3 separate regions of the Homo sapiens genome follow, and regions 2 and 3 are each linked to region 1. The links are contacts of gene promoters, found by promoter capture Hi-C in blood cells and fetal thymus (Javierre and others, 2016). All regions are on one chromosome and are shown on one strand. The core of a region is centred on a gene start or on the middle of the fragment in contact, and the rest is flanking DNA. Distances in the headings are between cores, read along the strand shown. Region 1 holds the start of CNIH2 (cornichon family AMPA receptor auxiliary protein 2). Region 2 holds the start of KCNK7 (potassium two pore domain channel subfamily K member 7). Region 3 holds the start of FAM89B (family with sequence similarity 89 member B).

Region 1 (2,700 bases), core at 1-2,500:
AGACAGACCCATGCGCTGCCTGCCCACCGTGCCCCTTTGTCCCCATGTCAGGCGGAGGCGGAAGGCCCACCGTGCCAGAGGCTGGGCACCAGCCTTAACCCTCACTCTGCTAGCACCTCCTCCCTTTCCCCAAGGTAGCACATCTGGCTCACTCCCCACTCCGTCTCTGGAGCCCACCAGGGAAGGCCCTCATCCCCTGCCGCTACTTCTCTGGGGAATGTGGGTTCCATCCAGGATTGGGGGCCTCTCTGCTCACCCACTCTGCACCCAGGATCCTAGTCCCCTGCCCTCTGGCACAGCTGCTTCCTGCAAGAAAGCAAGTCTTTGGTCTCCCTGAGAAGCCATGTCCCTCGTGCTGTCTCTTGCCTGTCCCACCTGTGCCCTGCCCTCCAGCTTGTATTTAAGTCCCTGGGCTGCCCCCTTGGGGTGCCCCCCGCTCCCAGGTTCCCCTCTGGTGTCATGTCAGGCATTTTGCAAGGAAAAGCCACTTGGGGAAAGATGGAAAAGGACAAAAAAAATTAATAAATTTCCATTGGCCCTCGGGTGAGCTGAGGGTTTTTGCAAGGAAGTTGTGGTGGCCAAGTGTGGTCTGTGGTCTAAGCCCAGCCTTGGGGTGGGGGGATGGAACTGGAACCCTGGGCTTGGTGGGGTGCACGGGGGTCCTGGCTTGGTTTCTGTGTCCTAAGGCTGCTGGCAAAAGCCCTTGACCCCGTTTCCTGAGGCCAGGAAAGCTGCTTGTGCTTCTGTGGTCTGTCCCCAAGGGCCCAGCACCGTTCTGTCAGGGAAAGAGGCAGGCGGCCATCAGCTCATACCTGGCGTGCCGCCGCCAACTCCCGCGGGGCACACGGCAGAGGTGTGGGGTCGCGCAGCCGCTGAGAGGGCCCCCACTGCACCTGGCCCAACCTCCTTCAGCGCCCCCCAAAACCCCACTGCTCCCATTCAGCCCCTGTCCTGGCGTCATTGTGTGTCCCAGCCAGGTGCTTCTGCCGTCTCCGACAGTGACAAGTGCCTCGCACTTCAGCCTTTGCCCTGAGCGCCCGCCCGAGGGGGCCGAGTGCGGCTGTGCCGGTGGCTGGAGTGCCGAGGGGTGCGGGGTGCCGGGGGCGGCCGCGTCTACGCTGTCCGGAGGGTGAACGGCCGCGGGCTTGTCGGGGCTGGGGGTGGCGCCCGAGCCGGGCGGGCAGACGAGGGGCCCGCGGAGACCCAGCCCCGCCCGAGGCCGCTCGCGCGGCGGCCCCGCCCCCGGCTCCGCCCCGCCGGCTTCGCGGGCTGGAGAGCGAGGGAGCCGCGGGCGAGGGATCGCAGGATGAGCGATCGGGGCCCGGGCAGCCGGCAGCGGACGCGCCCCCCGAGCCCACCGGCCCGCGCCCCGCGCCCCCCACGGCCCCGCGGTCCCGGTCCCGGCCGCATCACCCACGTCCCCCGAGCCCCACGGGCCATGCCCGGCCGGCCCTAAGCGCGGGCCGGGGGGCGTCCCCTTGCGCCCGGGCCCCGCGCTGGCGCCCCCCGGGCCGCCGCCCGGCGCGGGGGCCATGGCGTTCACCTTCGCCGCGTTCTGCTACATGCTCACCCTGGTGCTGTGCGCCTCCCTCATCTTCTTTGTCATCTGGCACGTAAGGCCGGGCTGGGGCTGGGGCTGGGGGCGGGGTGGGGGGCAGGGGCCACGCGGAGCTGGAGGGACCCAGGGCGGGTGGTCTCAGAGCCCAGGGGAAACTTGCTATCCCCCAGCCGTCGGCTTGTCGGCTTCGCCCCCATTAACACCCCCCGTGGTCGGCTTTCTTCCCGGGGCCCCCCTTCCTCCGCCGCCCCCGCCTGTCTGTGTGTATGTCAGTCGGTCTCTGACCCCCTCCTCTGCCCTCGTCCTCTGCTCCCATGCAGCCCGTGAGGTGGGGGGTGGAATTCTGGCATTTTTGTTGCTTTATCTTCTATGTCCCCCCCCACCACCATCCAGCCGCCTCCATTAGTCCGTCGGGCAGTTTGTCTGTCTGCTGCCCCCCCCCCCCCGCCTTTGTGGGTTTTTCCAGCCAGAGTGATGGAGCTGGTTGCTATGGCAACTGCATCTGTTTACAGGACCCACAGATCTCAGAGTCCATTAACCCTTTGCCTTCCCAGCCCCCTCCCTGACCAAGCAGCAGTTGGCTCTCATCAGCCCCCAGAGACCTAGCCCCCACCACCGGCTCACCTTGGGTTTCCCTACCCCTCCTGTTGGGGGCTTCCCAGCCCCCCAGGTTTCCTCTCCATTTTCCAGCTTCCCTCCTCTTCCTGTCCCCCTTCCCCTTTGTCTCTCACATACCCCTTGGTCTGTCCCTCGCCCTGGCCTAGCCTCACACCTGGTTCTTCAAAATGTCCATTCCTCATCCTGCATCCGACCCATCGCTTCCCCCAGGCTCCCTCCTCCTCCCCTCCCGCTCCTCTCCTCCAGGGCCTCCTCTGCCTGGCTCCCGTCCCCTCACTACAGAACTATCAATCAGCCTCCAGCTGGTTGTTGGGGGCCCCTGGCCCCACTTTACTGCCCTCCGTCCCCACCCCCACCCAAACCCCGTGCCTGTTTCTGTAACAGCCTGCCCAGCTCGGCCCTGGCTGGCTCAGCTCAGCATCCTCTGCTCACACCTCCCGCGCACACCTCCCTGATTGTCATTCCCTTTCAGGGGTCCTCTTATCCCTCCCTCAATCCCATTTCCCATAGCCCTTCCCTCCTTC
Region 2 (2,700 bases), core at 199-2,698, 680 kb before region 1:
TGGGAGTGCGGGGTGTGCTGGGAGAACAGGATCAGCTAATACAGAGCTGCAAACGCACATGCCTACCGGAGCCAGATGGGAGACAAACAGGAGTGGTGGGGACAGGGGTACACTGGAAAGTGTGAGCTGTATCCAAAGGGCAGGCCCCATTCTGCTCCAGTCAGGATGTTGCCTTGCAGGGATTCTGGCTCAGTGTGAGTGGGTTTCCTGATTTTCCAAAAGAAGTTGGAAATATGAGCTGGGCACAGTGGCTCACACCTGTAATCCCAACACTTTGGGAGGCTGAGGCAGGTGGATCACTTGAGGTCAGGAGTTTGAGAACAGCCTGGCCAACATGGCAAAACCCCGTCTCTACTAAAAACACAAAAATTAGCCGGGCATGGTGGTGCATGCCTGTAGTCCCAGCTACTCAGGAGGCTGAGGCAGGAGAATTGCTAGAACCCGGGAGGTGGAGGTTGCAGTGAGCCAAGATCGCACCACCGCACCCCAGCCTGGGTGACAGGGTCAGACACCGTTTCAAAAAAAAAAAAAGTTGGAAATACAAATTCCAATTCAAAAAATACTGAGACACTTTGTGGGGCAAAAAATACGAAAACCCAGGGCTGTGGGTCTCATTGCTGCTTTTCCCTGGGCCTGTGCCCACGCGATTTCTCTGCAGGACTCCCTCATCCCTGTCTGTGCCCTCCTGATCCACAAGCATCTCATGCCGACTTCCTCCCCTATCTTCCCTCACTCCCCCACCCGAGGCCATGGTCCTGATCTGTCCTTCCCAGGTTCATTCTATTTGCTTCCATCCAAGAATCCATCCCACTGTATTGTATCCCCTATCTGGCCACAGGCTGTGGCATCTGGGCAGCTCTCCTGGGTCTCAAAGGGTGCCTGGGGTGGGACTGGGGAGGCCACACCCTTCCTGGCAGTTGAAGTGGAGGCACCAGTTGGGGTGTGTTGGTGGGGAGCCCCAGCTGTGATGTCAGGCCTCACAGGGCCTGGGCTCCATCTGGCTCTTTGGGGCTGAAGGAAGGGCTGCATGAACCCCAAAGCCCCCAGGGAGCCATGGCCTCTTGGAGCCGCACCCCCCGACTTGGCTGCCTGGCTCTCTTACCTGTGGTGGTGAGGATGCTGGCAGCGAAGAGCAGGGCTGAGGGAAGGTCCCAGGTCCTGCCCTCTGAGCTGTTGCCCAGGGTGGAGACCCCATGGGCCTGGGTGGCCAGGGCAGTGCCCAGCAGCTCTTCCAGAGCTCCGGGTGGCAGGCAGGCCCTATGCTCTGCCTGGAAGGCTGCCAGCTCTGCCCTGAGCTCAGCCTGAAGCCTGCATGCAGGAGGCCCCTCCAGGGCCTGGAACACCACAGCCCCAAGCCCCAGGGCCAGCAAGTGGGCCACAACCAGGAGCCCGTATCGGGACCAGGGCCTTAGACCCCCCATGGCAGGCCGCTGGGGTGCTGTGGGAACTGGCGGCTCCACCTCAGGCACCTGGGAGGGGCTGGGCAGGGCGGGGCCAGGAGGAGGTGCTGTGTGGGTGGCTGGGACCCGGCTGGGATGGCTGGGGTGGCTGGGGTGTGAACAGGAGGGAGGTGAGCTGCATCACCCTTCCCAGGTCCTGGAGGCAAGACATTTGCCCATTTCACAGCAGCTGGGATGGTGGGGATGGGTGGAGGAAGGCGGCTGCGGTGAGGGGAGGAGGCGGAGGAAGCTGAAGCCTAGAGAGGACCTCACACTTATTCAAGGTCCTGCTCACTCAGGCACCCATACCACATTCATTCATTCATTCATTCATTCAAGTGCTTAGGGAAGAGGACAGGCACAGGTCCTTTCCTTCCTGGTGTTTACACAAGAAACCTCTTAGCAAAGAAACATGGCAACCTCACATTGTCATGAGTTCCATGAAGGAAACACCCTGGGTGATGGGAGAGCTCTGCGGGGAGCGGGGGGGTTATCTCACTGGGAAAGCTCTGCTAAGGAGGTGATATTTCAGCTGGGGAGTAAGAGGCCAGTGAAGGTAGGAATGAGCTTGGGGTGTGAGAGGAACAGAGGGCTGGCTGTGGCAGGGGAGAGTTGGGGGTGAAGGGGGGATAAGGACACAGGCCCTTGAGGATAAATGTGGTCCAGGGAGACCTACGCTGGGCTACTGTAGGCGTCATGGATGGAGTGATTTTGGCCTGGGTGGTGTGGTGGGAGAGGAATGGTGGCAGCTGGGAAGGATCAGGTGGGGGTGGGAGGTGGGGAGAGGACTCCAGGGTGCCCAGAGCACCCGGGCAGATGATACCCTTGCGCCCGATTGCCAGTTCTTCCTGAGAACGCTTTGTGCCTGCCCTCCTGACTCCCTGCCCCTGAACTGCAGACACAGAGTCTGGGCTGCCATGGGGCACCTGGGAGAGGGGAAGGGGGAGCCTGGGTTCCAACTCCTCTAACGTCAGAGGGGCTGAGGACAGAGGCCAAGGAAGGGACCCAGCCCTAGGGTATGGTGTGGGAGTGCCAGAGCCCCCATGGCAGTGTGAAGAGAATGGACAGAGGCCGAGGGAGGGACCCTGCCCTAGGGTATGGTGTGGGAGTGCCAGAGCCCCCATGGCAGTGTGAAGAGAACTGTCAGGGGTGCCAGATGCCATGGCAAGTCACCATACTGGGAGGTGGGTGGAACTTACTACTCTTTTTTTTGAGATGGAGTCTCGCTCTGTCGCCCAGGCTGGAGTGCAGTGGTGCAATC
Region 3 (2,700 bases), core at 1-2,500, 710 kb before region 1:
AAAACACCTCAAGCACAGAAAGAGCAGAGCAGAAAAGGAGATGGCTCAGGGCTGAGGTGGGCCAGGCATCCTGACCATTCCACCCACTTTCTCCTCTTTTTAGCTCTGAATGCCCAGGCTGCCCTCTCCCAAGCTCGGGAGCACCAGCTGGCCTCAGCCTCAGAGCTCCCCCTGGGCTCTCGACCTGCGCCCCAGCCCCCAGTACCTCGTCCGGAGCACTGTGAGGGAGCTGCAGCAGGACTCAAGGCAGCCCAGGGGCCACCTGCTCCTGCTGTGCCTCCAAATACAGATGTCATGGCCTGCACACAGACAGCCCTCTTGCAGAAGCTGACCTGGGCCTCTGCTGAACTGGGCTCTAGCACCTCCCTGGAGACTAGCATCCAGCTGTGTGGCCTTATCCGCGCATGTGCGGAGGCCCTGCGCAGCCTGCAGCAGCTACAGCACTAAGAGAAGCCCCTGAGAAAAACCCTCTAGAAAAACAGCTGTTCCTCTGTGTGGTTTGTTTTTTTCCTGGTTCCAAGTGTGCATGCCAGCCCCAGCTCCACTCACCTTTTTCCAGCTTTTGGCCTCTTCACCTCTCCACTCTGCTCTCCTTGACGCCCTGAGATGAGTTGAGCTTGTTTCTTCTCAGTTTCCCCAGTCAGGATGAGGGAGTAGGTAGAGGACTATGTGATGCCCCTTTTCTAAGGAAGAAGCCATAGCCTTTTCAAAGGTAGCAGCCAGAGGGGTGGACCCTAGCCTTGTCTCTGGCAGCACCTCTGCAGCCTCTTCCGCCATCTGGTGTCCATTCCCCACCTGGAAGTGAGGTTTTGTGTTCCGATCCCCTTGATAGATTCCCCTCCTTCCCCTGAGCATCCTGACCCTATCAGCCTATCCCATCTCATGCCCACCCCAGGTACTCAGACACCGACAGGAGTTTGTGGTGACCCCAGCGTCAGGTGGCACGTTAGGCACCAAGTGTGGACTTGCCAGTCTCCTGACTCCACTGTTAGATCATTTTCCTTGGGTGTGGGGGCGGGGCGGGGCGCGGCGGGGAGACGGGGTAGCAAAAAGAACCGTGAAGAAACCACGCCTGCCCCCTTCAGCCTTTTCCCCCCTCCGCCGCATTTTTCCATCTCCCCTTGAGTGAGTGGATGTCCCGTTGCCTTTTCTCAGCTTTGCGCGACGTGGTCCCACAACCGTTGCCTTTTTAAGAGAGGCCCGGCCCATCCAGAGGGGGTGGGGCAGAGGCGGAGTCTGAGGAGCTGGGGAAGGAACAAAGCGAGGCCTGCGGGCGGCGGCTGGGCTCCGGCGGGGCCGCGGGGTGCGGGGCCTGCGGGCGGCGGCCCGGGCGGAGCGTTGGAGGGAAGGAGGTGGCATCGCCGTCCGCGCCGGCCCCGGCCATGAACGGGCTGCCCTCGGCAGAGGCGCCGGGCGGGGCGGGCTGCGCTTTGGCCGGGCTCCCACCGCTGCCGCGCGGCCTCAGCGGCCTCCTTAATGCGAGCGGGGGCTCGTGGCGGGAGCTGGAGCGCGTCTACAGCCAGCGCAGCCGCATCCACGACGAGCTGAGCCGCGCCGCCCGCGCCCCGGACGGGCCCCGCCACGCCGCCGGCGCCGCCAACGCGGGACCCGCAGCCGGCCCGCGTCGTCCTGTCAACCTCGACTCAGCGCTGGCCGCGCTGCGCAAGGAGATGGTGAGTGGGTGGGCGCCGGGCCAGCTGGGCGGGGGGCTGACGCGGAGGAACGCAGGGGACTGGGACAGGCGGCCTGGGTCTCAGAGGACTTGCAGGCACCAGTTGGGTTGCAAGGGTTATGGTAACAATAATTAGTGATAGTTACCAATTATGGCAGTAGTTACCATATATTTTCAAATGTTTTGCTGACGTTACTTCATTTCATCCGGCTAAATGGATAACCCCATTTTTTGGGTGAGGGTCATGACTAAAGTTGCATAGCTTGCAGGTGGTGCCTGATGTCCACAAAAACTTCGTTTAGGAAGGTGCGGGGAAGATGGGCTGGGGCCCACTATTCCAGGGGGCGGGGCTGGGCTGGGGTGGCCTGGACCCCAACTCCAGCCCACCCTCAGTTGTCTGCAGGTGGGGCTGCGGCAGTTGGACATGTCCTTGTTGTGCCAGCTGTGGGGCCTGTACGAGTCAATCCAGGACTACAAACACCTGTGCCAAGACCTGAGCTTCTGCCAGGACCTGTCATCCTCCCTCCATTCGGACAGCTCCTACCCACCGGATGCGGGCCTGTCTGACGACGAGGAGCCTCCCGATGCCAGCCTGCCTCCTGACCCGCCACCCCTTACTGTGCCCCAGACGCACAATGCCCGTGACCAGTGGCTGCAGGATGCCTTCCACATCAGCCTCTGAAGGGCTGGGGGGCAGGGGGCATGCACCCATGCAAAAGGCTCAGAAACTCCCCCTCCGGCAAGCCCTCAGACTTCGGAGCCTGCGCCTTCCCCCCTACCGCCTCACCTCACAGGAGGGCCAGGCATGTATTCCTCAGAGGCGAAACTGCCAAACTCTTTCTCCTGTCTTGGGTTGGCTGGCACTGGGGCGGGCATCTAGGGTACAGCCTCTGCTCATGGCACTGGGCCTCCAGTTCTTCCACATGTGTGCACCCCCAGCTTGGCCAACCCTCAGCCTTGCGGTGGGGCCCGAAGCATCTTCCCTTCCGCTTGGCGTCTCTGGGATTGGGATGAGTGCCTGGCTCCCA

The links. The method cuts DNA at HindIII sites, captures the fragments that hold promoters and counts their contacts. A CHiCAGO score of 5 or more calls a contact.
Region 2: the fragment with the promoter of KCNK7 here is called in contact with the fragment with the promoter of CNIH2 in region 1 in 1 of 17 cell types (naive B cells); the score reaches 7.0 in naive B cells.
Region 3: the fragment with the promoter of FAM89B here is called in contact with the fragment with the promoter of CNIH2 in region 1 in 1 of 17 cell types (non-activated CD4 T cells); the score reaches 5.0 in non-activated CD4 T cells.

What each region holds. Positions count from the first base shown.
Region 1 is chr11:66,276,925-66,279,624 of GRCh38, forward strand. CNIH2 (cornichon family AMPA receptor auxiliary protein 2) reads left to right here and starts at 1,251. Exons shown (of 6, transcript NM_182553.3): 1 at 1,251-1,613. The coding sequence starts at 1,533. RAB1B (RAB1B, member RAS oncogene family) reads left to right here. Exons shown (of 6, transcript NM_030981.3): 6 at 1-568. LOC107984340 (a long non-coding RNA gene) reads right to left here and starts at 1,601. Exons shown (of 2, transcript XR_001748274.1): 1 at 1,571-1,601. RefSeq lists a silencer at 1,027-1,356. The HindIII fragment of the contact is 7,021 bases long and covers 1-2,700 here.
Region 2 is chr11:65,594,352-65,597,051 of GRCh38, forward strand. It overlaps KCNK7 (potassium two pore domain channel subfamily K member 7), which reads right to left and starts at 1,449. Exons shown (of 3, transcript NM_033347.2): 1 at 1,103-1,449. The coding sequence starts at 1,421. The HindIII fragment of the contact is 15,508 bases long and covers 1-2,700 here.
Region 3 is chr11:65,571,288-65,573,987 of GRCh38, forward strand. It overlaps FAM89B (family with sequence similarity 89 member B), which reads left to right and starts at 1,251. Exons shown (of 2, transcript NM_001098785.2): 1 at 1,251-1,673; 2 at 2,076-2,700. The coding sequence starts at 1,383. The coding sequence ends at 2,354. It overlaps ZNRD2 (zinc ribbon domain containing 2), which reads left to right. Exons shown (of 4, transcript NM_006396.3): 4 at 104-601. The coding sequence ends at 447. RefSeq lists a silencer at 1,122-1,571. The HindIII fragment of the contact is 12,518 bases long and covers 1-2,700 here.